Linked DNA regions of Homo sapiens: region 2 is linked to region 1. Evidence: promoter capture Hi-C in 16 types of primary human blood cells and fetal thymus (Javierre and others, 2016). All regions are on one chromosome and are shown on one strand. Each heading gives the region's core, a stretch centred on a gene start or on the middle of the fragment in contact. The rest is flanking DNA. Distances are from core to core; before and after follow the strand shown.

Evidence for each region. The method cuts DNA at HindIII sites, captures the fragments that hold promoters and counts their contacts. A CHiCAGO score of 5 or more calls a contact.
Region 2: a contact is called between a fragment that was not itself captured here and the fragment with the promoter of EAPP in region 1, in 1 of 17 cell types (activated CD4 T cells). The highest score is 6.3, in activated CD4 T cells.

Annotation. Positions count from the first base shown.
Region 1 is chr14:34,537,086-34,541,927 of GRCh38, reverse strand. EAPP (E2F associated phosphoprotein) reads left to right here and starts at 2,227. Exons shown (of 6, transcript NM_018453.4): 1 at 2,227-2,373. The coding sequence starts at 2,300. LOC105370447 (a long non-coding RNA gene) reads right to left here and starts at 2,179. Exons shown (of 2, transcript XR_943739.1): 1 at 2,144-2,179; 2 at 222-1,742. It overlaps LOC112268123 (a long non-coding RNA gene), which reads left to right. Exons shown (of 2, transcript XR_002957583.1): 2 at 1-694. RefSeq lists silencers at 2,050-2,149, 4,091-4,385 and enhancers at 2,290-2,449, 2,100-3,024. The HindIII fragment of the contact is 15,759 bases long and covers 1-3,179 here.
Region 2 is chr14:36,313,993-36,318,832 of GRCh38, reverse strand. It overlaps MBIP (MAP3K12 binding inhibitory protein 1), which reads left to right. Exons shown (of 9, transcript NM_016586.3): 2 at 2,021-2,140; 3 at 3,918-4,142; 4 at 4,225-4,321. Among named protein-coding and RNA genes, the nearest start is that of MBIP, 4.2 kb to the left of the region's middle. The HindIII fragment of the contact is 1,535 bases long and covers 488-2,022 here.

The sequences.
Region 1 (4,842 bases), core at 978-3,477:
TGGACGGCTGCTTTCATTCTACGCCCACTTTTTAGAGTGCATTCCTACAATAAGCACCCTAATAATGTAAACCAGGGGCCAAGGGATGCACCTTCCACTCTACTTCCTTCCCCAGAAAAGACCACCTTGGTAAATACAGAATGGCAAACGGTTAAGTGAAACACTGTATAGCTTCTGGCCCTATACTTAGTATTTCTTAACATTTACACAGCATTTTCACATTTCCAAAGCAGAGTACCAACATTTATTAATCCTCACAACACCCCTGTGAGGTAGGTCAGTATGTCCTTTAGAGTCGAGAACTGAGGCAGAGGTCAAGCAAACCTGCCCTGGGCCACAGAGCAGCAGATGAAGGGCCTAGACCTGGATCCAGAAGCTAGGGCTCTCGGTCCAGCATTCATCCACTGGTGGACATCACATGGGCTTATTTTTACCAGCGAAGGTTACGTGAAGGACAAAACGCACTCAGCCAGCAACGGAAACTCAACAGTTCAAACAGCACTGGGGAACATGTCAGTTAAAGAGACGAAACGCTGACCAGCTCATGAATGAGGCAAGACAACATGCGGCTGAGGAAGTGTGGAATCATCACGACTGGGGATTAGACCAAGAACGGGCGCTCAGGAGGGTTCAGGAAAATGTAAACAAACTAGGAACCCATCCAAGGGGTGACAGGCCCAAATGCCTACGGTCTCCAAATGGTAGAAAAATTAGAAAAAGATAGTGGAAAAATCCAACCACGCAACCTTAACTTTAAACTAGGAATGACAATAATGTGTCTAATGTTCATTCACACTAGAAAGGCCGATAATGTTTGTAATATAACTACTGGCGATAGTATCCTATTTGTATGCCAACTTTCATCTCAAGTATTCTGCTTTTCTTTCCCCACAGACAAACAAGTGTTGTTCTTTACAGCAGACCTCTTTCCCTCTACATACCAATCTATCCACTCGCATAACTACTAAGTGGCTCAATGGCCTATGTCTCATGCTTAATTGGCTGAGCTAGGCGCGGAATCCGGGAAACCACAACAGACTGTACTCTGCTCCTGTATTTCAGGAATAACTGTCACTAACCTGCTTCTGTCCGATTCCACCTTCTATGAAGTACACACAGAGGAGCAGTTCATTCTTTTGTAAAGGGATTGGTGGACTTTGTTCGAGATGCCATTTCAAAAGAAATGAGAAAAAAGAAAAACTAAGACCTGCACTGTAAAGCATAATACAGGAGTAGATTTATTACAGCTACTCCACATTTTAGAGAGTGCCACAGTGTCTCGGTAGGAGGCAGGAACCCGAGTTCCTGGTTCAGAAACAGGGTTAGAAACAGTCTCCCGATGGAGCTCAAGTGGCTGTCATCTGCCTGTTCTCCTCAGGTATCGAGTGGGATCAGTTGAGGGCTGAGCAAAAGTGGGGACTGGGAAGATGACGAGAAAAGATAACTTTTCGTAGATTGTTGAGGCCGCAGTCAGACTGAGGAGTGAACAGTGTGAAGGAGAGGTTGAGAGCCTCATGGTGTGGAAGGCATAAGGGTTAGAGGCGAGGTTGGAGGGATGTGGGTGCTGGTGTCTGAGGACTTATTGGATTTCGGGCTGTGTGTCCCTCAGCGTCTAGATTCCTGCTTCGTAGGTGATGAGACGCTGCATGTAGCATGTTCACCTCAGAGACTGTCACTTATGAGGGTGCCCATCATTATTATTTTTGGTGACAAGGTAGCTGCTATTTTCCTGTAAGCAGAAGCTGCGGAAGAAAATGGTGGGATTGGCCGGGAGCGGTGGCTCACGCCTGTAATCCCAGCATTTTGGAAGGTCGAGGTGGGCGGATCACCTGAGGTCCGGAGTTCGAGACCAGCCTCAACATGGAGAAACCCCCGTCTCTACTAAAAATACAAAATTAGCCGGGCGTGGTGGTGTATGCCTGTAATCCCAGCTACTCGGGAGGCTGCGGTAGGAGAATTGCTTGAACCTGGGAGGCGGAGGTTGCGGTGAGCCGAGATCGCGCCATTGCACTCCAGCCTGGGCAACAAGAGCGAAACTCCGTCTCCAAAAAACAAAACAAAACAAAAATGGTGGGATTAAGACCCGCCCCCGTCCCGTCCCCGCCCCTTTTCGCTCCTGCTCCGCCCCTTCCCCGCCTTCTACCTGCCTCCCTCGGTGCTGTCGGTCTGCGCGGGCGCGCAAGGGGGACTGGGACGTTCAGGCGGAAGTGGCGTCAGGGGCGCTTTAGGGACTGGACTTGCAGTGTAAACAGAGACGCTGCAAATTGCTTGTGGACGGTGTAGGCCGCTGCAGGCCACCATGAACCGGCTTCCGGATGACTACGACCCCTACGCGGTTGAAGAGCCTAGCGACGAGGAGCCGGCTTTGAGCAGGTGGGCTCCCGCCCCACCCTGGCCCCCGAGGATTTGGGTCGAGGCCTGGCTTTGGTCGCCTCCATTCGTTGCGCCTGCCGAGCCTACGCAGACCCTAGCGGCTCGGGAGCCTGTCGTGCCTGTTACTTGTGCGAAGCCAAAGGGCTTTCCTGATGGGGTCGCGCAGTCCCGGGGGGAGGCGGTGCCGATGTCGCCTGTAGGAAGAGGGATATTCCGGAATCACGGGGGACCGCGTGTAAATCTTCAAAAGCAATGAGATCGAAACCTGTCTCTACACCTTAGTAGCAGAGTGACGGAAGGCAAGTCAGTTATCCTCGATTACTCACCTGTAAAATTGAACTATAATAACATAATTGTATAACCTATATAACATAGTATAACACACTATGTTTGTTGTGAGGCTCACAGGACTTAATGTGAAGTGTCCATCTTGAAGACTAAACTGCCATAAACAGAAATAAGGGAATATTGAACAGCCTTTTTTATTTTTATTTTTTGACAGGGACTGTTGTATGCTCGCTCTGAGCTACAGAGATAAATCATAAGGTCCTTGTCTTCCAGAGGCTTATAGTATAATAAGGGTAATAAGATAAAGTATATATTTCTTGGCAGAGCATTGTAGAGAATATTGACCTGAGATAGGCACAGAAGAAGGTTCGTGGGATTTCCAGAAGGGTGGGCTTTATTCTACCAGGGAAACTTGAAGCTGTTTTGCCGAGATATTTCCACACAAATTTAGTTATTTCTTAAGCTGTCAGCAGATCCTATTCTTAAACTTTAAAACATTCATTCTGCCTAAAGAAGCTTTCTGTAAAGCCATGCTTTCATTAACAACTTTGGCTGGGTGTGGTGGCCCATGCCTGTAATCCCAGGACTTTGGGAGTCTGAGGCGAGAGAATCTCTTAAGCCTGGTAGTAAAGGAACAGCCTGGGCAACATAGTGAGACCTCATTTCTTAAAAAAAAAAAAAATCAAAAGAACAATGTTTCCTCATATTGTCATGGGGAGACATTGGATGCATGGGAAATCAGACTGCTGTTAAGATTTCTTTTGTTGGGAGTGAGGATAGATACCAGGATTCCCTGTGAAAAAGAGTTTCAGTTAATGGGTCCTGTCTGTGAAAGGAGGTATGTATATATGTATGTCTCAATTATTTATTTATTTATTTATTTATTTTGAGACAGAGTCTCACTCTGTCAGCCAGGCTGGAGTGCACTGGTGCAATCTTGGCTCACTGTAGCCTCCACCTCCTGGGTTCCAGCAATTCTCCTGCCTCAGCCTCCTGGGTAGCTGGGATTACAGGCATGCGCTACCACACCTGGCTTATTTTTTGTATTTTTCGTAGAGATGGGTTTTCACCACGTTGGCCAGGCTGGTCTTGAACTCCTGACCTTAGGCAATCTGCCTGCGTCGGGCTCCCAAAGTGCTAGGATTACAGGCCTGAGCCACGGAGCCAGGACTGTTGTATCATTTTTTTAAGGAAGCTTTATAATTCTGTGACAGTTGCCACTGGTAAGGTAACTGTAAAGATAAATATTATAAAAACAAAACAATGTTATCAGACAGTATTGCCTGTTGTAGGCTCTGAGCCAAATGGTTATTATTTTAAAAAGGGAGATTAGTGTTAGAGAGGTGTCTGTCAGTATTTAATTTTACACTGTTTATAAACTAATACATTGTAGCCTGTTAACTGTTTCACGGTAGCTGACCGAAGACATGAGACTCCTGGGTCAAAGATAAGACTACACATAGCACAGCAAGCAGCATGAGCATCATGTTTGTGTGGCTTGCTCTTGCTTGTCAACCCTACAGGTATTACGCTGAGGGTCCTAGAAGAATGCTGCACATTCAGTGGGTTGGCATCGTGGCTAAAGACTACTTGAGCTTGGAGAATCCACCTCTTTCATAGAAGACAGTAAATACATCTGCTCTTTGTCCTGGAAGGAGACATTATCTCATTCCTCAAGGTTGTTGTTCGCTGCAAACACAATCCTGAGAAATGGCTGGAGTGAACAGTGGTCAGAACCTTGCATTCTTGGCATACTTAACTTGCATATCTAGGGTCCATGATGTATGACTGCCTTTCTCAGCAGTGCTGAAAACTGAGACTTTGGTTGAGATAATGACAAGGATTGAAGAAAATTTGTAGAAAAAATAGCTCTCACTTTGTGATTCAGTTTTTAAAAATTAAACATTTTATTTTGAAGTTTTCGTAGATTCACATTCAGTTATAAGAAATAATACAGGTCTGGTGCAGTGGCTCACATCTGTAATCCCAGCACTTTGGAAGGCCAAGGCAGGAGAATCACTTGAGCTCAAGAGTTCAAGACCAGCCTGAGCAACATGATGAAATCATGTCTTTACTGAAAATACAAAAAATTAGCTGGTATGGTGGTGCATATCTGTGGTCCCAGCTACTCAGGAGGGTGAGGCGGTTGGTTGGCTTGAGCCTGGGAGGCGGAAGTTTCAG
Region 2 (4,840 bases), core at 6-2,505, 1.8 Mb before region 1:
TTTTGCAACCACTTTAAAGGATATTTAGAATGTATGTTGTAACATGCCTAACTTCATCCTGTGTCATCCCTAAGTATCGTTGTATTATTAGATCTCCTCAGTAGGAAACATAAAACTGAATGTTAAAAATAATTTTTTACTTAAGATCACAAAATTTACTAATTTTAACCTTTTTGCTTGCCTCTGGATGGTCCATCTTACCAAGCTAAACAATTATTTATTTTTAGCTTGGATTTTTGTATTAATTTAGTAAAGTTTTTACTGAAAATATATATTTAAATAGTCTATATTAATAGCAGACTAATAGAGATTTTCGAGTGAGTGGTTTACTCTTCCAAGTTCTGTAGGGCAAAATGCATAGAGTTCATATTACTAATAATGAATTTGTTGAATGAATAGTTAGATGTATTAGGACAGTTTTAAAATTAATTTGTGACATTATGTGGTTTTCTTAAAAGACTAATTATTCTTAATTGCACTTGAAGCTTATGTAATTCTGCTGAATTGAAATGAGAATATGAACCAAACATTAAGACTTATTTTTCTATAAGTTATTTTCTCTAGAAAATGTGATACTTTGCTTTGGTTGAGGATTTGCCTGCTTTATCCCCAAGCTGTATTCTTAAGTTTTCTATAATCAACTATAGATCTCCTTGAAGACTATGAAAGTACATTAATGGGTTACTTCCATACATAATACAGGTTGTTGTCTAACAAAATCTTTATAGGAATTAAAGTAATATAAATTAATGCATTAACTTTAATGTACAATCTTAATATATTCTAATCTTTGCCAGTGCAGCCTACATGAAATTTCATATCTCTTTATACTTGTCTAATATGGACTTTTAAATGCTTCCATTCTCATCTTCAAAGGGCAGTAAATTTCTGTCACATAGTATTTATTCAATATATTATCTTTTTATTGGTAACCTTATATCTTTTTGATCTTTGTACAGTGATTCATCTTTTTTATTATAATTGTGACTCATAAAATCTGTATTTGAACTCACGTAACACCTTTATTTTGTAGAAAAGATGACTCATTTTGAATAAATTATGTTAACTTGATTCTACTATGAAGTATAGTCTTATACTATGCTGTAAACACATGTCCCTAGAAAAGTTTTTGATGGTTCACTTTTATTCATTCAAAAGACTGCAGATGGGCGCTCTCATTGTAAAATTTTCACTCATTTTGATAATAATCTTATATTCAGGTTCTTGGTAGTTTTCTGGATATGATTTTATTCTATTAGATCACCAACTGATAGAAATTTCCATATAATGAGCTGTCACATCTTAGCATTTACAAAAGATCTGGACATTTCATCCAGTCTGACAACTTATTTCACTGTGGTGGAGAAGTCTTTGTTTTTCAGCTTCAGACTTCCATTGCTAAATAATAGTTTTTTATTTGAAATAAACATGTTGCCATTTATCCCTACACTTTATATGTATGAATAATCTTGACTTTTAAATTAGTTTAAAAATCGGTTAAAAGTTAAAAAACTAAAAATGTGATTTGGAGGACATCAGAATAATGATATATTTCTGATATGTATTTGTGTACATACTTAAAGAGAAAGATGCATGTTAAAACTTTCACAAAACACTTGTACTTCCTCTGTTTAAGGCTCTGAGCTAGAAGTAGTAGGATTCTGAATAGGGCAAGCCTATATTGGACTCCATCCAAAGGTTTGTATATATTGAAGTATCAAAAGAGCCTTCATCTTTTCATCTTTCATGAATGGTTTTACCTCTAAAATGGTCCCATTACACAGACCTAAGAATAGAATTTGAACGACATGTCATTTTGTTTTTGTTTTTTTATGAAAATCTGTAGCTTTCTTGGCCTTTTGAAATGGTAACTGGGTAGAGCATTTCAGTGTATTATTAAAAACTTGATAACTTAGAGCAAAATAGACCCGTTACTCTAGAAATCTTATTTTTGTGACAATTCCATATGTAGAGCTTAATCGTGTAATTTTTGTGATGTTGCTGGTTTGCCCCTTTGAAGCTTGACCTCAGAGATGATGTGGTGAAAATTACAATCGATTGGAACAAGCTCCAGAGCCTCTCGGCATTCCAGCCTGCATTGCTCTTTAGTGCACTTGAACAACACATTTTATATTTACAGGTAAATTTCTTGTTAGAAATGATAACCCGATATTGAAAATAGAAATTGATTGTGGTTAAGTTAGTTGGAGTATTTGACAGTTCTAAACACTATATTAATAGTGTTGCTAATAAAACGTTATTTACATCCGGATTTAATCTAAATCTGTTAATTTCAGTAGTGATCAGGACAGTTAAGGGAATATAGCCCAAAAGACCAATGTGGGTATGAGTGAATGAATGCAATTCTATTCAATTCTAGACCTGCACTGAAAATTCAATACAGTTCCATCTATGGTGGGTTATAATTAAGCAATAAGACACGGCAGGTGTGTGTCATGCTATGATAATGATTCCATGCCTTGGGTGAGTTTGGAGGCTCATGGAGTGCTTTCAGTGGTTCAAGAAGGGGCATTATCCCAGCATGACACATCCTGGAGTGTCTATTGCAATTAAACAGTTTCAGCATAGTTTTTAAAAAGAAAGTAATTTCTATGACATTAATGTCTCATCTTAGTAAGTAGCCAGTCACTATTTTATCATTTCTTTTCCTTAACAGTTTGAAATAATTCATTCTTTATATTAGAAGTTAATATTGAATTGGTATTTATAATAGTGTTGTTATATTTTTAAATATTTCATGTTAATAACTGAACAGTATTATGACCTTGCTGGTTTCTAATTGAACATCTTTGCAATTATAATTGATGTAAGTTTGCAGTTTATCTCTAATCAAAGTGTAAAATGTGAAGTGTCAAAAAGATAAGTGGAAAAACTGGATTGGTCAGTTTACTGTGATTAAGGTGTTATAAGATTTCAAAAGAGTAGTATAGCGAACAATGGAAGCAAAATTGTAGGTATGAAAAAAATAATTGGAACGTTATTAGTGTTAGTGTGTTTTGACTAATGGAATAGGCATTAATTTTCAGCCCTCCATTCATTGACTTTGTGGGAAATTTTAACTGTTTCATGTTAAAAGTAATAGTTAACCCTGTTTTTAAAGGGCAGAGCAGTGAGCTCTAGAACTCAAATGAGACCTCATTGTGGGGAGTGGGGGAGGGGAACAGTAAATGAGTAATATAGTTTAAATTCTACAACAGGGGTTTTCCCCCTGTAGTATAGTGATAGGCCTCTGCCTGTTTTCAGCTATAGATCTTTTTTTTTTCTTGTTCGTTTTCTTTTTTAAAATTTAATTTTATGACCAAAAGATATCTTGCCATGTCAGGAAAAGTCTGAGTGTTCACTCAGCCTAACACCTATATATTTCATGTCTATGCTTCCTCATTCACATTGGCCAACTGCAGTTTCAAGTGGAGAATCTCCAGTGATACAGTGATAATGCAGGGCTTTGCTGAGTGAGAGCACTAGCTCTCGTGTTAAGGAGGAAAAATACTAAGCCTTAGTGTTCTGAGGAGGCATTTGAATGACATGTTAATTAAGTGGCATTGGTGCCAGAGGCTGAAGGCTTTGATTTGGCACAAAATAAAAGATGAGTGACAGAATGATTCTCTCAAAGAAAATTTTAAATTTCCTTAGGTTTTCTTTTCTTTTTTCTTTTCTTTTTTCCTCTCTCCTTTTTTAAAAAACAAATTTATAGCAAATGATAATGGTTACAATAGCAGAGAATAGTGAGTACTTATATGTGGTCAGATCTATGTGTCCTGGTATACCAACTTTTTATATTTATTAACTGATATTAAGTATTTCATTTACTTAGCAGAAATTTATGTAAATATATTAAGTGTGTAATTAATTTTGGTCAGATTGAACCTCAGCAGATGGAATTGTGTTGTTCTCAGCCTTTTTTAGCAAAACTTCAGTCTCCGATTAAAGAGGAGAATACAACTGCTGTTGAAGAGATAGGAAGAACAGAAATGGGGAACAAAAATGAAGTAAATGACAAATTTTCCATTGGCGACCTACAAGAGGAAGAAAAGCACAAAGAAAGTGATTTAAGAGATGTGAAAAAGACACAGATCCATTTTGATCCAGAAGTAGTTCAGATAAAGGCTGGAAAAGCAGAAGTAAGAAGGTTTTTTGGCGGGGGCGAGAGGGTATTATTTTAAAAAATCTTATGTTTACACTGTTAAAACTTGTTGTTTGTAGATTGACAGACGAATATCTGCATTTATTGAAAGAAAGCAAGCTGAAATCAATGAAAACAACGTCAGGGAATTTTGCAATGTTATTGATTGTAATCAAGGTAACTACCTGGAAATTAATTTTCATAGGGTTTTAAGCACAATTTTTATAGTTGCTCTAATCTTTTATTTATTTTTTAAATGAATAGCTTTTAGAACACAATTCAATTTATTTCATGGATTTAGTTAGTAATTAAGACAGTAGAGTTTCCTTCTGCTTAATAATAGACTATATTGCAAACTGGTTTTCATTTTGGTTACACAAAGTAAATGCTAACATTAAAAAGTGTTTATCACAGGTGAAGATTATTTTAAAGTTCCTTTAGGAAATGAAGGTGAGGTACGAGTGAGAAGGTTGATCTATCTCACTAGTAAAAGGAACTGAGCTCTATGAATTTCAAACCTATACATGTACTGTGAAATCATGATGTTAATACGTAAGTGAACTTAGTAAAGTTAATATTCCTCCAGAGGGAGCAGTTTTCTCACTACTCCTGAGCTGTTTGAAATGTCCTGTGTCACGATACAACCAATTTATCATGAAGACCATGGTGTCTTGCTTTTTTCCTTTCTGCCATAGT